Linked DNA regions of Homo sapiens: region 2 is linked to region 1. The links are contacts of gene promoters, found by promoter capture Hi-C in human tissues and cell types (Jung and others, 2019). All regions are on one chromosome and are shown on one strand. Each heading gives the region's core, a stretch centred on a gene start or on the middle of the fragment in contact. The rest is flanking DNA. Distances are from core to core; before and after follow the strand shown.

Region 1 (7,811 bases), core at 3,004-5,503:
CCAAAGTGCTGGGATCACAGGCGTGAGCCACTGCACCCGGCCCCTGTTGACATCTTGATCTCAGACTTCACCCGGCCCCCGATGACATCTTGATCTCAGACTTCTGGTCTCCAGAATGGTGGGAAAATAAATTGCTGTTTAATCTACCCAGTCTGTGGTTCTTTATTATAGCAGCCCTAGCAAACTAATACTAAGGCTCTAACCTTTATCTCCCTCCCCTCTCTTATTATTCCCTAAGAGGAAGTCCAAACTGCAATAGGCAAAGATTCTTAATGGACCTTGCATGCCTTGTTTAGCCTGCTCTCAAAATGCAGTAATCTCCTGTACTGCAACAATGAAAACCTTACCCATTTTTCAGGACAAAATCCTTTTAAACTCTCCACCTCTGATCAACAGAGCCTACACCATCGATCTCTCCTTTCTTTGACAGTCTGTCTACCTGAACGTCTGTTTCCATTACCTGAAAAACTGTATTAATAATAAAACTGAAAAACTGTATTAATAAAAGCCTGAGTTTGGCACTAAGCCGTCTACTTCCACTGAGGAAAAAGCAGAAGCAACATACTGCATTTATTTCAAGGCTGTTATGAGAAAGATTTGCACTGACACATGAAGACCAACAAAGACATTTTCCCTGACTTTGATAACTTTAGATTCCATGAGGAATCAGCCTGGTTTTAAGCTTCTCATCAATGCAAATCTGTAAAAAAAATACTGTCTGTCTGGCTCTCTGCCATGGCTATCAGAAAGAATGAAAACTGCAGTTCCATTTTGGAAAATCTGTAACATCAGGCGACCTCCATCTTTCCACATGCCAATTCTGCTGTGCTACTGCCCTGCTTTTCTATATATTCCTTGAATGATTTTGATCCATTTCTACATTTCCATATTAATATGTGGACCCTTAAACACCTATGAAATCCATGATGAAAAAGGTATTAGTAATTAACTCACCTGAGATATGTTCATTTTCTGCTGCTCCTGAAAGAGTGTGGAGAACCGTAAAGGATAACCTGGGGGTGAGGAAGGAGTCATGAGAGATCTGGGCAGCCTCCATCTTACCTGCCTACCAATGTCATCACACCAGCTGGGGAAAAAGGCCTCTCTACAAAAAATGTTCCTTTGACCTTTGAGAAGGGACAAGCAGCACTACAGAGAAAGCACCTCCTGAATATGTGCATCTTTAATATGATCATGTGGATGAACCCTTGCTGTGTGTGTGTGTTTTTTTGTTTTTTTTTTTTGAGACAGGATCTGGCTCTGTTGCCCAGGCTGGAGTGCAGCGGTGTGATCTCAGTTCACTGCAACTTCTGCCTCCTGGGTTCATGCAATTCTCCCGTCTCAGCCTCCTGAGTTGCTGGGACCAAAGGCACCCACCACTACACCCAGCTAATTTTTGTATTTTTTGTAGAAATGGGGTTTCACCATGTAGCTTAGGCTGGTCTCGAACTCCTGACCTCAAGCAATCTGCCCGCCTTGGCCTCCCAAAATGCTGGGATTGCAGGGGTGAGCCACCAGGCCTGGCCCCTTGCTGTTTTTCATCAGGCGATTGTAGACTATTTTCCTATTGATTTATTTAAAATGTATGTCTTCTTTGACTAACAACTTAAACAGAATTAACATTAATATTCTGTTAATATTATTTACACCAATAGAAAACACAAAACTGAAAAAAAGGAGATGCTGAAAGACTATTTTAAAATATTTTTGTTCTAACTTATAGTTTCTCAAAAGACTTTCGATAAGACACTTCTGGTGACTCACCTGTGACAGAGTGAACAGCACTGTGCTTTGCTCCAAGCTCTGTCCTGAGTGACCATGGACAAACTGTTCATCCTAGGTTCAATACTTTTTAAGGTTTTAAGAGTCAGAAATAGAAATCCTTTCCTGTATTATCATTTTTGTGATTCTACAGGTTCAGGATAGAGGCAACCTTAGTAAATTTCTAGATGCTACATGTGATGGATGTTGTGTGAGAGTGACTCAGAATCTGGAAAGAGTGAGGCAAGAATGAAGAAAATGGGGGCTCTATGAGGAGGATTAGAGACAATTTCCTCAGCCCTGGCTGGTTATGCCTTCCTTGGAGACCATGGAGAAAAGCCCTCCAGTAATGTGGCTTTTCCTGTGCAGTCTGACAGTCACCCACGCCTCTCAACCCCAGCTTACCACCTTCTGCAAGTTGGCCCACAGTGTTCAGTGTCACACAATCTGTGATGGCTTCTGGATGTGGCGACATCACCAAGTCTGGTGCTCTCTGGGCAAGGGGATGAAGAAGTGCCGCTGGTTGGGCAAATCAAGACCTGCTCCTTTCTGGGTTCTTCTGCATCTGTTTGGAAGCCCTGGTGAGGAGGTCTCTGTTCTGTCAGAGAGCAGTTCTTCGGTGGGACTCCTGTTCCTGGGGCTCCCTCCTTCCTGCAACATAAAGAGCTGCTTTGCTCCAGAGAAGCTGGGGCTGATGCCTGGGTAACAAATTTATTTTAGTTGAAACTTTCATGGAAAACAGTGTTCTTCACGTCAGCACAACTTCCATTTTGGGCTGGATAATCCTCTGACATAAGGAGTGGTCCTGTGCATTGCAGGATGTTTAAGAGCATTTCTAAACATGCACTAGACACTAGGACACCCCTTCTCCCTGTTGTGACAATCAGAAACGTCTCCAGGCCGGGCGTGGTGGCTCACGCCTGTAATCCCAGGACTGTGGGAGGCCAAGGCAGGTGGATCACCTGAGGTCAGGAGTTCAAGATAAGCCTGGCCAATATGGTGAAACCCCACCTCTACTAAAAATACAAAAAATTAGCTGGGCATGGCCATGCATGCTTGTAATTCCAGCTGAGATTACAAGCTGGGAGGCTGGGGCAGGAGAATCAGTTGAACCTGGGAGGTGGAGGTTGCAGTGAGCCAAGATCACACCACTGCCCTCCAGCCTGGGCGACAGAGAGAAACTCAGTCCCCTCTCCCCCCACCAAAAAAGTCTCCAACATTTCCAAAGTTCCCTAGGGAGCAAAATCCTCCTGGTGAAGAAGTGACCTAAGGCCTTAAACCTGATTCTCTTGGCATTAATTAGAACCCTGCTATCCATGACTACAGCCTCCAATCACATCAACTACTGAGCACTGGAAATGTGGCTAGGACCACATGTTGAAATAACATTTTGGATACACTGAGAAAACCACAGTATGTTCTTAAAATTAATTTCATGTTTTAGATTTTCATGTAGCTACTAGTTTAACATTTAAAATTACGTATGTGACTCATCTTCACTGCCCTAGAATATCAGACTGACTTCTAAAGACAGAGACAGGAGGGACAGCACAGGAGGTGGCAGGGGCCTCAGTCTAACCCAGAGGCTCTGGAGACATCCCAGAAACCCCACAACAAATACACTTGCCACATAGTAAGATTCTGTCCACACTGACTTCACAATCATTGTCCTGGGGTTTTGGGGACAATCACTCAGTGCTGTGAAGGCTGCAATGCTGGGTTAGGTAGGTAGGCCATTACAAACAGCCTGATTCGGGGAGTAAAGTGTTTATGTATTGACATCCTAGCTCTCTCATCCTTTGTGAGCTTGGCTCTATCTTTTCACTCCTCCTTCTTCATTTTTAATGATATAAATAGGGTGGTTGTGAGAATTAAACGAAATACTACATGAAAAGAACAAAGTGTCTTCCAAATATAACGGGAATCAACATTTACATGCTGCTTAGTAACTAGCGCTTAGCTAAATGCTTTACAGGGGATGGCTTACCTCTGAACGACACAAAGCAGTTTTTACTAATATCCTCATTTTCAAACGCTCAAGTGACAGAGCCAAAATTCACGAGGTCCTTCTAGCTCCTAGGCTCGGCCTCTCACCGCAGACCCACGGGCTGTACGCGCTTTGTGGCAGGTTCATGGTCAATACAATAAACGCGCATTCCCCTCCTGAAGCCAGCACCGCGTTTTCCGACGCCTGGCTGCATTCTGGCGCCCATACCTCGGCCCGCACCGAGCATCTTCCAACTAGGACTCAGCCCCACCTAACGCCCCCGGAGCCCGCCCCCACCGGCCCTTCTCAGGCTGAGGTCCCGGGCCGGCCGAGGCACAGGGAGCGACGGCCTGCTTTGGGGGAGTTCCCGGGACGTCGCGTTCCCGCCCCCTGGACACTAGCACATCCCTCCCTGCAGGTCCGCAATCCGCGTGGAGGCCCGGCGCTCTCACCTGAGCTGCGAACCCTCTGCACCAGCAAACACTAACAGGGAGAAGCCGGAAAGTGGGGTTGACTGCACATGCGCAGACGAAAACGCGCATATCCGTTCCCAGCATGCTGCGCGGTAACCCATAACATGCAAGACTACGTTTCACATGCAGTACGGCGCCAGCTGTCAGTGTTTTTTTGTTTGTTTTTCCCCCAAGATTTATGGCGTAATAACATGGACCGTCCTGATAACTGGAGCCCGGGTTCTGTCAGAGCCCCAGAGGTTGTGGGTTAGACTTGATGACATAACAGCAAATGCAGCGTGTGGTTACAGAAAGCAAGAGCCGCGGAAGACGTTTGAAAACAATTGGGAAAATTTGTATACGGACTGGAAATTAGAATTATTAATTAATTGTGGCAGCATTGGGATTATGTAGGTAATCTTGCTTATTCATAAAGAGATGTCTATGTAAGTATTTAGGATTGTATTATGTTTGTAAGTTTTTGGGTTTTTTGGTTTTTTTTTTTTTTTTTGAGACGGAGTCTTACTCTGTCGCCCAGGCTGGAGTGCAGTGGCGCGATCTCGGCTAACTGCAACCTCCGCCTCCCGGGTTCAAGCGATTCTCCTGCCTCAGCCTCCCAAGTAGCTGGGACTACAGGCGCCCGCCACTACGCCCAGCTAATTTTTGTATTTTTAGTAGAGACGGGGTTTCACCATGTTGGCCAGGCTGGTCTCGAACTCCTCACCTCAAGTGATCCGCCTGCCTTGGCCTCCCAAAGTGCTGGGTATACAGGCGTGAGCTACCACTCCCGGCCCGTTTGTAAGTTCTTTTTAAAAAATAATTAGAAATGGGAAGTATGGCAAAATGTTAAGAATATCTACTTCTAGAATATGGACATGCTTATTGACTATGTGTTGGAAAATTTTATAATATAAAGTTGATAAAGGGAAAATTGGGACTGTAATGTTACAAGTGTGCCTTTTAACTTAGAGCTGCCACAAAAATACATAAACAGCTTTGTGAATAAAGCCGTAAAATGTAACAAATACTAGAAAATGGAAACCATTATTAACATAAAAGAATAATATTTGTGATCCTCAGTTTATCTCTGGGGGGAAAAAAAGAAAAAGCAAGTAAGCTGTTCAGCATTACATAATACCTGAAGTACACACAATCCCAACTAAGAAAACCGTTATCCACAAATTATGCATCTCCTAGAGATGAGCTTGCTTAAATCTTATGTGGTATGCTTCTGAAATCAGGAACCAAATTAGGAACCTCTCAGCACAGTATTTTATGACACTCTTTTTAGTAACACACATACACTCACACACACACGGTTGATACTTTCTAACAGGTTATTTTATATGGCAATGATAAGTTTTGATTAGCAAGAAAAAAGATTAATGGCAACAGTAAACTAGTGCAGTATATATGAATCAAGGTATAAAATTTTACTGTTGACACTGAAAAACACTTTAATAGATACTGGAGGAAAAGACTAACATTTGTTTTTAAAAATTCTAATCATCTATGTTTTCTAAGTATATATTTTCTTTTTTTGACATTTATATATTTTGCCTGTTTTCCTAAAGGAACTATTCCAATTTTCATTCTAATAAAAACTTATGGTAATGATCAGAAAAGAATTGAAAATGCATAGCAATATCTCTATATTTACTATGTATACTATCACTAAATATTTAAAAATTTATCCTGGTGCAGTAAAAGTTCAACTATATGAAAAAGAAAGAATGTAGTATGTATCAGCTGGCTTTTAAAGCAGTGGAAAGAGAACCTTCAGTAACCTTGTTAGGACAATGAGATAGGTGCTGGGACAAAGGACATATCCATGGCACTAACATTACAATCAATAATTTTCACAAGGATTCATTCAACAATAAGCAATTAATAATATCAAAGTTTTAAATTTTTAAATTATACATTTCTTAAGTTTTTAAGAGAAACAGGTGTTTTAAAAAGATAAACCCTTTAATTCCTTTCCAAGGAAAGTCTCGCCCTTCACATCTGTCTGAAGGCTGAGACCTTGCCTGGTGCCCAAAGAGCTGCTCTCCGCCAACTTCCAAGTTCGGCGCTGTGTGTGTAGATGCAGCACCACCGCAGCTGATAAATATTTGCAGTGAGGTTTGGTTTGTTTGTTTGTTTTTGAGACCGGGTCTCACTATGTCACCGAGGCTGGAGTGAAGTGGTGCGATCACGGCTTATTGCAGCCTGGACTTCCTAGGCTCAAGTGATCCTCCCACCTCAGCTTCCCAAGTAGCTAAGTTTTGGACCTCCCTCCCTCCCTTCCTCCCTCCCTCCCTCCCTTCCTCCCTCCCTTCCTTTCCCTTTTTCTTTCTCTTTCTTTGTTTTTGTCCATGTTGGTCTCAAACTCTTGGGCTCAGGCGATCCACCCACCTTTGCCTCTCAAAGTGCTGGGACTACAGACGCGAGCCACCATGACTGGCCTGCAGTGAGATATTTTGAGGCTATAAAACATCATGTTTCTCTTAAAGTATCACTCACTAATTTAGTAGTGTTTCTTCATTCACCTGTTGAAGGGCAGCTGGTGGTTTCCAGTTTTTGACAATTATGAATAACCCTGTAATGTAAGATTCACACGCAGGTTTTTGTATAAAAATAAAATTTCAATTCACTTTAAAAAATCCTTTCTTCTTTGTGTTGCCTGGTCTGTCTATTCTTTTGCAGATATATTGTTTGGATTACTCTAATTTTATAGAAAGCCTTGAAATCTCATAATGTAAATTCTCCAATTTTTTCTTTTTAAGAATTATTTTGGCTATTCTAGTTTCTTTGCCTTTCCATGGAAATTTTAGAATCAGCCTGTTGACATCTACAAAAAGATTGCTGAGATTTGGGAGAGCTGGCATCTTAACAATATTGAGTCTCTCAATGAGTGAAATTGGTGTACTTTGGGTGGAGTCGTTCACACCTGTAATCCCAGCACTTTGCGAGGCTGAGGCAGGCAGATCACTTGAGGTCAAGAGTTTAAGACCAGCCTGGCCAACATGGTGAAACCCCATCTCTACTAAAAATACAAAAAATAGCCGGGCATTGTGGCACGTGCCTGTAATCTCAGCTACTCAGGAGGCTGAGGCAGGAGAATTGCTTGAACCCAGGAGGTGGAGGTTGCAGTGAGCCAAGATCGGGCCACTGTACCCTAGCCAGGGCAACAGAGCAAGACTCCACCTCAAAAAAAAAAAAAAAGAAAAAAAAAGAAAATGGGATATTTTACGTGAATCTTTCTTTCCTTTCAGCTGTGTTTTGTAGTTTTCAGTATATATATATATATATATATATATATATATATATATAGATCCTGCACACATTTTGATACATTTGTACAGAGGTGTACCTTTCTTTTTTCCTTCTTTCTTCCTTTCTTCTGTTTTAAATAGATTTTTTTAAAATGTCACATTCCAGTTGTTCACTGTTGGTATACAGGGATAAGATGACTTTTGTATATTGACATTTATCCTGAAAACGTGCTAAACTTGCTTATTAATTAAATAAGTTTTTTTGGTATATTGTTTGAAATGTTCTACATATATAGTCATTTTGTCTGCAAATAGTGACCATTTGTTTCTTCCTTTTCAGACTGTATGACTTTT
Region 2 (7,811 bases), core at 2,910-5,409, 70 kb before region 1:
AAAACAAAAACAAAAACAAAAAAAAAAAAACAAAAGAAAAAGCCTTGAAAGAAGCCAGAAGAGAAAAACACCCATAAAGAAGCACAGATAAGAATTACACCTGACTTTTGAAAAACGATGCCAGCAAGAAGAGAGTGGAGTGAAATATTTAAAGTGTGGTGAGGAAAAAACCTACCAACCGAGAATTCTGTATCCTGTGAAATTATGCTTCAAAATTGAAGGAAAAATGAACAAACAAAAATTGAGGGAATTTGTTGCCAGTAGACAAGAGGAAACCATGTCAGATACCAATCTGGATTCACTAAAAGAATCCAGAAATCCTAAATATGTAGATATATGGAAAATACTTTCCTTTATTTTTTTCTGTTCAAATTTTGGAAAGATAACTTAGTTTTTGAAGCAAAAATAATATGTAAGGGTTTCTTACATATGTTGCTATAAAATATATGACAATAGCCAAAAAGACAGGGCACAAGTATAATTTTACTGTTGAAAGGATTTTAAATTTTTTGAGAAGTGGTACAATATTAATATAACTCTAAATATATAATATAACTAATCTAGTTAACTCTAAATAGATTATGATAAATTAAGAATGAACATTTTGATTTATAAACTAACCACTAAAAAGTAATATGGGGAAGTACAGCTAAATATCCAATAGAGGAATAAAAATGGAATTCTAAAAATATTTAAAAGCTGACAAAAAAAGTGGAACAGAGGAACAAAACCATCAAACAAGCAAAACAAATGAGGCAACTGGAAAATGAATAACAAAGTAGCAGATTTAAGCCCTACTATATCAGTAATTACACTAAATGGACTTAAACCTCAGATTTAAAAATGGAGGCTTTCAAGCTGGATAAAAAAGCGTGATCCAACTGTATCTTGTCTAAAAGAGATGTGTTTTAACTGTAAAGATACAGGTGGATTGACAGTAAAAGGGTGATAAGAAGTATACTCTGCAAAAAAAATAAGAAATATAATATGTGTTACTAACATGGACGCAGTACAATGGGTATTGTCATAGAGTTTCAAAAAGACAATTCATTATGTTAAGAAGGGTCAATTTATCAGGAAGATGTAACAATGGTAAATATGTGTGTACCTAATAAAAGAGCTTCAAAATACAAGCTAGGCACAGCAGCTACTAGGGAGTCTGGGGTGGAGGATGGCTTGAGCCTAGGATTTTGAGGCTTCACTGAACTGTGATCATGCCACTGCACTCCAGCCTGGGTGACAGATGAAGAGCCTGTCTCTAAAGATGAAAAATTGAGAGAAAGTGTCAAAATACACAATGCAAAAACTGAGATAACTAAAAAGAGAGACAAATCCACAACCTTGCTTGGAGATTTGATATCTCTCACAGTAATTGATAGAACAAACTAGACAAAAAATAAATCCAGTAGGATGGTAGAAGACTTTAAAAATGTTGTCAACCAGTTTGACAATATATGTAGAACACTACATCCAAGGATTGCAGAATACACATTGTTTTAAAATGTACGTGGAACCTTTACAAGGATAACCTATGTTTTAGGCCTTAAAGAAGTTCCAACAAATTCTGAAGATTGAAATGTTAGAGAATAGGCTGGGCGCGGTGGCTCACGCCTTTAATCCCAGCACTTCGGGAGGCCGACGTGGGCGGATCACCTGAGGTCAGGAGTTGGAGACTAGACCAGCCCGGCTGACATGGTGAAACCCCGTCTCTACTAAAAATACAAAAATTAGCTGGGCGTGGTGGTAGGCGCCTGTAATCCCAACTACTCGGGAGGCTGAGGCAGGAGAATCACTTGAACCCGGGAAGCGGAGGTTGCAGTGAGCAGAGATCGCACCATTGCACTCCAGCCTGGGGGACAAGAGCAAGGCTTTGTCTCAGAAAAAAAAAAAAAGAAAGAAAGAAATGTTAGAGAATAAGTGTTCCGACTGCAATGGAAATTGATTTAAAAATCTATAAACTTGTATTTTTGGTCCCTAGGTATCAGAGGTTCAAATGTATTCTCATGTGGTATTTTATGATATCTCCCACAGGTCGTTCCTTGACTGGGAATCAGTGAGATAATGAAATTGTGTTCAAGCAATCCTTATCCTATTAAGGCCTAGGTACTGTGCAGATCAGTTGCTTCTGAAATGGTCCAACCACATCTGTTATGGTTTGGTGCAAAACTCTTCCCAATATCCTATTGTTTCTTGGGAAGTAGAAATGCTAAGTGCATGTGTAGAAGCTTCATCCCTGGGGATCAAGCTTGATCTCAAACAATAACGATCTGTTCTCCACAAGGCCCAGGACCCATGATCATAGTAAGGCAGATGAGAGGACTTCTGGTGCCCCCTCACATCCCTGTGCATCTTGACAGTGAGCTCTTACATAGGGCACATGATGTATATATATATATATATTTTTTTTTTTTTTTTGACTGTGGCAATTTTATTTTTTATTGATACATAATAGATGTGCATATTTCTGGGGTACATGTGATATTTTGATATTATTAATATAAGTATAATAACCAAATCAGGGTAAATGGAACATCCATCACCTTAAACATTTATCTTTTCTTTATGCTGGAAACATTTGAATTATTCTCTACTATTTTGAAATATACAATAGATGTTTTACTATAGTCACTCTACTGACTTATCAAACACTAGGTCTATTTTTTCTATCTACCTGTATTTTTTTGTAGCCATTTATTGACCTCTCTTCATCCCTCCCTCCCCCTACCCATCCCTGCCTCTGGTAACCACCATTCTTTATGAGATCCACATTCCTAACTCCTACATCTGAGTGAGAACATGTGATATCTGTGTTTCTGTGCTTGGTTTATTTCACTTAACAGTGACCTTCAGTTCCGTCCGTGTTGCTGCAAATGATAGGATTTCATTTTTTTTAATGGTGGAATATTCCATTGTGTATATATATCACATTTTCTTTATCCACTTATCCATTGACGGGCACTTGGGTTGATTCCATCTTTTGGCTATTGTAAGTAGTGCTGAAATAAACATGGGAGTGCAGACATCTCTTCAATATATTGATTTCTTTTCTTTTGGATATATACCCAGCAGTGGGATTGCTGGATCATATGATAGTTCTATTTTTAATTTTTTCAGGAATCTCCACAGTTTTCCATGGTGGCTGCGCTAATTTACATTCCCATCAACAACGGAGGAGGGTTCCCTTTTGTCCACATCCTTGCCAGGAACCCTATTCCCTTTTTGATAAAAGCCATTTTAACTGGTGTGAGGTATTCATTGTGGTTTTTTTTTTTTTTTTTTTGTTTTTTTTTTAATTTATTTTTTTATTGATAATTCTTGGGTGTTTCTCACAGAGGGGGATTTGGCAGGGTCATGGGACAATAGTGGAGGGAAGGTCAGCAGATAAACAAGTGAACAAAGGTCTCTGGTTTTCCTAGGCAGAGGACCCTGCGGCCTTCCGCAGTGTTTGTGTCCCTGATTACTTGAGATTAGGGATTGGTGATGACTCTTAACGAGCATGCTGCCTTCAAGCATCTGTTTAACAAAGCACATCTTGCACCGCCCTTAATCCATTTAACCCTGAGTGGACACAGCACATGTTTCAGAGAGCACAGGGTTGGGGGTAAGGTCACAGATCAACAGGATCCCAAGGCAGAGGAATTTTTCTTAGTGCAGAACAAAATGAAAAGTCTCCCACGTCTACTTCTTTCTACACAGACACGGCAACCATCCGATTTCTCAATCTTTTCCCCACCTTTCCTGCCTTTCTATTCCACAAAGCCGCCATTGTCATCCTGGCCCGTTCTCAATGAGCTGTTGGGCACACCTCCCAGACGGGGTGGTGGCCGGGCAGAGGGGCTCCTCACTTCCCAGTAGGGGCGGCCGGGCAGAGGCGCCCCTCACCTCCCGGACGGGGCGGCTGGCCTGGCGGGGGGGCTGACCCCCCCCACCTCCCTCCCGGACGGGGCGGCTGGCCGGGCAGAGGGGCTCCTCACTTCCCAGTAGGGGCGGCCGGGCAGAGGCGCCCCTCACCTCCCGGATGGGGCGGCTGGCCGGGCGGGGGGGCTGACCCCCCCCCACCTCCCTCCCGGACGGGGCGGCTGGCCGGGCGGGGGGCTGACACCCCCACCTCCCTCCCGGACGGGGCGGCTGGCCGGGCAGAGGGGCTCCTCACTTCCCAGTAGGGGCAGCCGGGCAGAGGCGCCCCTCACCTCCCGGACGGGGCGGCTGGCCGGGCAGGGGGGCTGACCCCCCCCACCTCCCTCCCGGACGGGGCGGCTGGCCGGGCGGGGGGCCGACACACACGATGTATATTTATCCCTTGTATCCTGGAAGTTGCCTGGGGTGCTGTTTGGGGGACCTTGCTGACAGAGTGCGTAGAGGTATGAGTGGGCTCTCAGTTAAGCACTTGAAAGCCTAGAACTTCCTTTCAATTGTGGTGAGACACTGACCTCTATTCGAAGATGGTGGCCACAGGTGTCTGTCTACCAGAGTTCTCCAGATAAGTGCATTACACAGCTCCCTTTCTGCCACTCAGTTCTGAAGTCAGCTTCAGAATAAACAGCTTGGTTCATGATTTCAGGGGATGAAAATGCCAAAGATAACAGAGAATTTGAGAAAACCTCCAGACTTGGTTTTTCTGTTTGTTTTCCTGTCTTGCTGTATCCAATGGCACAGGGATTTGCACTCTGGCAAACTCTATCTTAAGAGGAAAGTGAGACAAAAGGGTTGTTTCTTATTCCCTACAAAGCATTAAAGAAGTTCCAGTGACAGCAGTGGAGGTGTCTCATTCTTTGGTACAGAATATAGTCCTTTATAGTTTTACAGAAACCTACAAAAACACACAGTGGCAGTGTCCTGGGACAGACAACTGTGCTCTCAGTCTCTGGGAAAGTGTATTGAAAGGTGCTCATACATTTCTCCCTGAGATCTCAGTGGGGGTGAGGAATGGGAAGTATGTAACTCCCTCCCTCTTCTCTTTCCAGCACCTCCAGGAAGAAGCGAGAGTTCAGTTTCCCAAGTCGAGGGAAGTAGAGAGGGATGGGAGGGTCTGTGAGAGGTGGAGGTCAGCACAAGGGCCTCTTACCTGAGCATTTCTGCATGGGGTGCATACTGGCACCTGGCTGTGTGTGCCCCTCAAACTGGCTCCTATCATCCAGAATCCCACCTGTAATAATTCTATTCCTGCTTCACTGAAGAAGAATATCAGCCCAAGGAGGTGCAGTGACTTCACTGAAGTCACACAGCAAGTTAGTGCTGGGGTCCAGACAAGACTCAAACCTTCTGGTTTCTAATCCAATTTTCTGGATGGAAAAAAAGTTATAAGTCCTTATTCTTTTCAACTGCTGTTCTTATTTCCCAAAGTGGAGTGCCCAAACATGGAAAAGAAAGACCCCCAAGCTACTCCCCTGGCTCCACATGGATGCTTATGGAGGGATGGAGGGAGAGGCTCTCCCTGACTTCTCTCACATTAACTCCACTTTGCATCATCTCTCATTTGCTGTGCTCTCTGTCTTGGGGTAGCAGTTTATTGTAATCCCCCACTTCCCATCCAGAAAAACCCCATATCTTCTCATTTCATCTCTCATAGTCCCTTCTACTATCTTGAGACCTTATATATAATGTTTCTTGGTGTAAACATTTCATCCGGAAGGGCTTGGAGAAAGGCACACTCCCTAGCCAGTTAACATTTTTCTACCAACTCCAAATTTTTAAACAAAGCTTCTCTTCCTCAACCATCTGCAAATCAGAAAATCGTTGAATCTACCTATGACATGTAAGTCCCCACTTCAAGATATTCCATCCTTTTAGGCCTAAAGCAACCTCCATGTATTGATTTACAATTTTGCCTACAGCTTCTGCTTTCCTGAAATCCACCCCTGCCTTTGAGATCCTTTGTCTGGAAGCCACTGGGGAGGTCAGGATTTGAGCATTTAGCTGCCTGGTCCTTCTTGCTTGGTGCTCTGCAATAAACACCTTTCTATTGCTGCAAACTTCAGTGTGGATATGTGGTTTTACTGTGGCAGGAGAGTGGACCCCACTTTGGTTCTATAACACTTAAAAGTTAAAACAACTGTCCCCAAAACTGATTTTCTTGGTTTTCATGATTTGTTAACAGTAGCACTGTTCATTTTTTTTTTCATGAATATCCATATTCAAGGAGTTTGCAGGTCTATCCTCATATGGATCTCACCCCTTTTTCTTGTTACTAATTTACACTCCAAGACCTCAGTATTGTTGTAGTTACCTCCTCACTAATCTCTAGTTTTTCCTCTCTCTAAATCTTTTTTTCACTTTGCTGTGAAAATAATCTTCCCTAAACACAAGTTTTATCACCAATTCCAGTTCATGCATTTGTCTTATACCTCCTCATGCACATGCACTGTCATTACCCTTGGTTGGCTCAACTTACATTTCCAGCTCTTTCTTACACATTGACCCTGGTGCGTCACACAGGCAACACACTAAGCTACTCACAATCTGCCAAGCTTTACCTGAAGTTTGCATCTTCGGTAGATAGCTTGCCATTGCAGGGGCTTAAAATGGACTTGGGAGGTGGGAAGGTGTGAGTTGAAATTAAAATTATGGCATAAGTTATGCTCGCATGAACACTGAAGAGCTTTGGGTTTATCATACTTCACCTGAGGATGATATTCACTTTGGATGGTTGTTGAGAAGATTTGAAGAACGCAATTTTCAAGTATCCAGAACTATATCTGACACTGAAACCACTTTTGCAAAATTATCACAGTAAGAGAAATCTGATATAGTTGACTCCATCTTGCTTCTAACCTCCAAGCTGCCCTTGGTCCTTCCTGGGCCTAGGACATGCTGACTGTGGGAGAAATTTAGTTTATAGTTTAACCTTAAAGCAAGGATGATAGTAGCCCTTCCTAAAACTAAACTGACTTTATAAAACTAATGAAAGCCTACAAGGCTAGGATTATGAGAAGGGCCTGAATTCTGCTAAAATTTAGGCATAAACAATAACAAGCCATTGTTCCAGAGGTCATAAGATTTGTAACTTCCCCAGTTACACTTGCAGATAACATCACTATTGTAGAACCTTAGGTTGGCCTTTGAGATGCCTTTTCAGACTTTCACATTTCTGATGACCAGCGAACTCCACCTGGACTCATGATACCACCAGTCCTGTGGCCCCCACCCAGAGGTGGACCCAGCACATGAAGATTGTTTTCCACACCTCTATGATCCCCAACCAATCAGCAATACCCGTTCCCTAGTCCCCTGCCCACCAAAGTAACATTGAAAGCCTCTAATCTCTGAGCCTTCGGGGAGGCTGATTTGAGTAAAAATAAAACTCTGATCTCCCATTTAGCTGGCTCTATGTGTATTAAACTCTCTATTGCAATTTCCGTGTCTTGATAAATCAGCTGTATCTGGGCAGTGGGCAAGATGAACCCATTGGGTAGTTACAACACATAATAGATGTTCAATAGGATGCCCCAAGGGATCCTCAGTGGAGCGAGCTCTTCTCTACCAGCTGCCCCCAGGCTCCACGGGCTGCTCTCCCTCAAGGCCCACTGTGCGTCTACACTGCAGCACCTGACTCAGAAGAGGTGGAGTGTGTTGCAGGCCTGGGGGCAGCTCTGCCTGTCCCTCTTAGTACCACCAGGCTAGGCTCTAGAGTCAAGCTGGTACATGGGTTCTGGGGTCCTGTGATCCTGGGTTGTGGGGAGTGGGATGTGTGTTTCCTAGGAAAGGTGCTGAGGGTTTGATATTTATATGTTTATATTTATAAAACATATTTGCTTTTTAATTTTAAAATATTTAATTGACAAAGATTGAATATATTCTTATTCAAAGTGTAC

What was found. The method cuts DNA at HindIII sites, captures the fragments that hold promoters and counts their contacts. A contact is called where the count stands out against the background at its distance.
Region 2: a fragment that was not itself captured here is called in contact with the fragment with the promoter of ZNF510 in region 1 in 2 of the 25 tissues and cell types used here (mesendoderm cells and spleen).

The regions. Positions count from the first base shown.
Region 1 is chr9:96,773,834-96,781,644 of GRCh38, forward strand. It overlaps ZNF510 (zinc finger protein 510), which reads right to left and starts at 4,254. Exons shown (of 6, transcript NM_014930.3): 1 at 4,201-4,254; 2 at 2,167-2,412; 3 at 955-1,013. The coding sequence starts at 2,236. RefSeq lists a silencer at 4,015-4,114. The HindIII fragment of the contact is 14,118 bases long and covers 1-7,811 here.
Region 2 is chr9:96,703,553-96,711,363 of GRCh38, forward strand. No RefSeq gene overlaps it. Among named protein-coding and RNA genes, the nearest start is that of PRXL2C, 52 kb to the left of the region's middle. The HindIII fragment of the contact is 3,848 bases long and covers 2,236-6,083 here.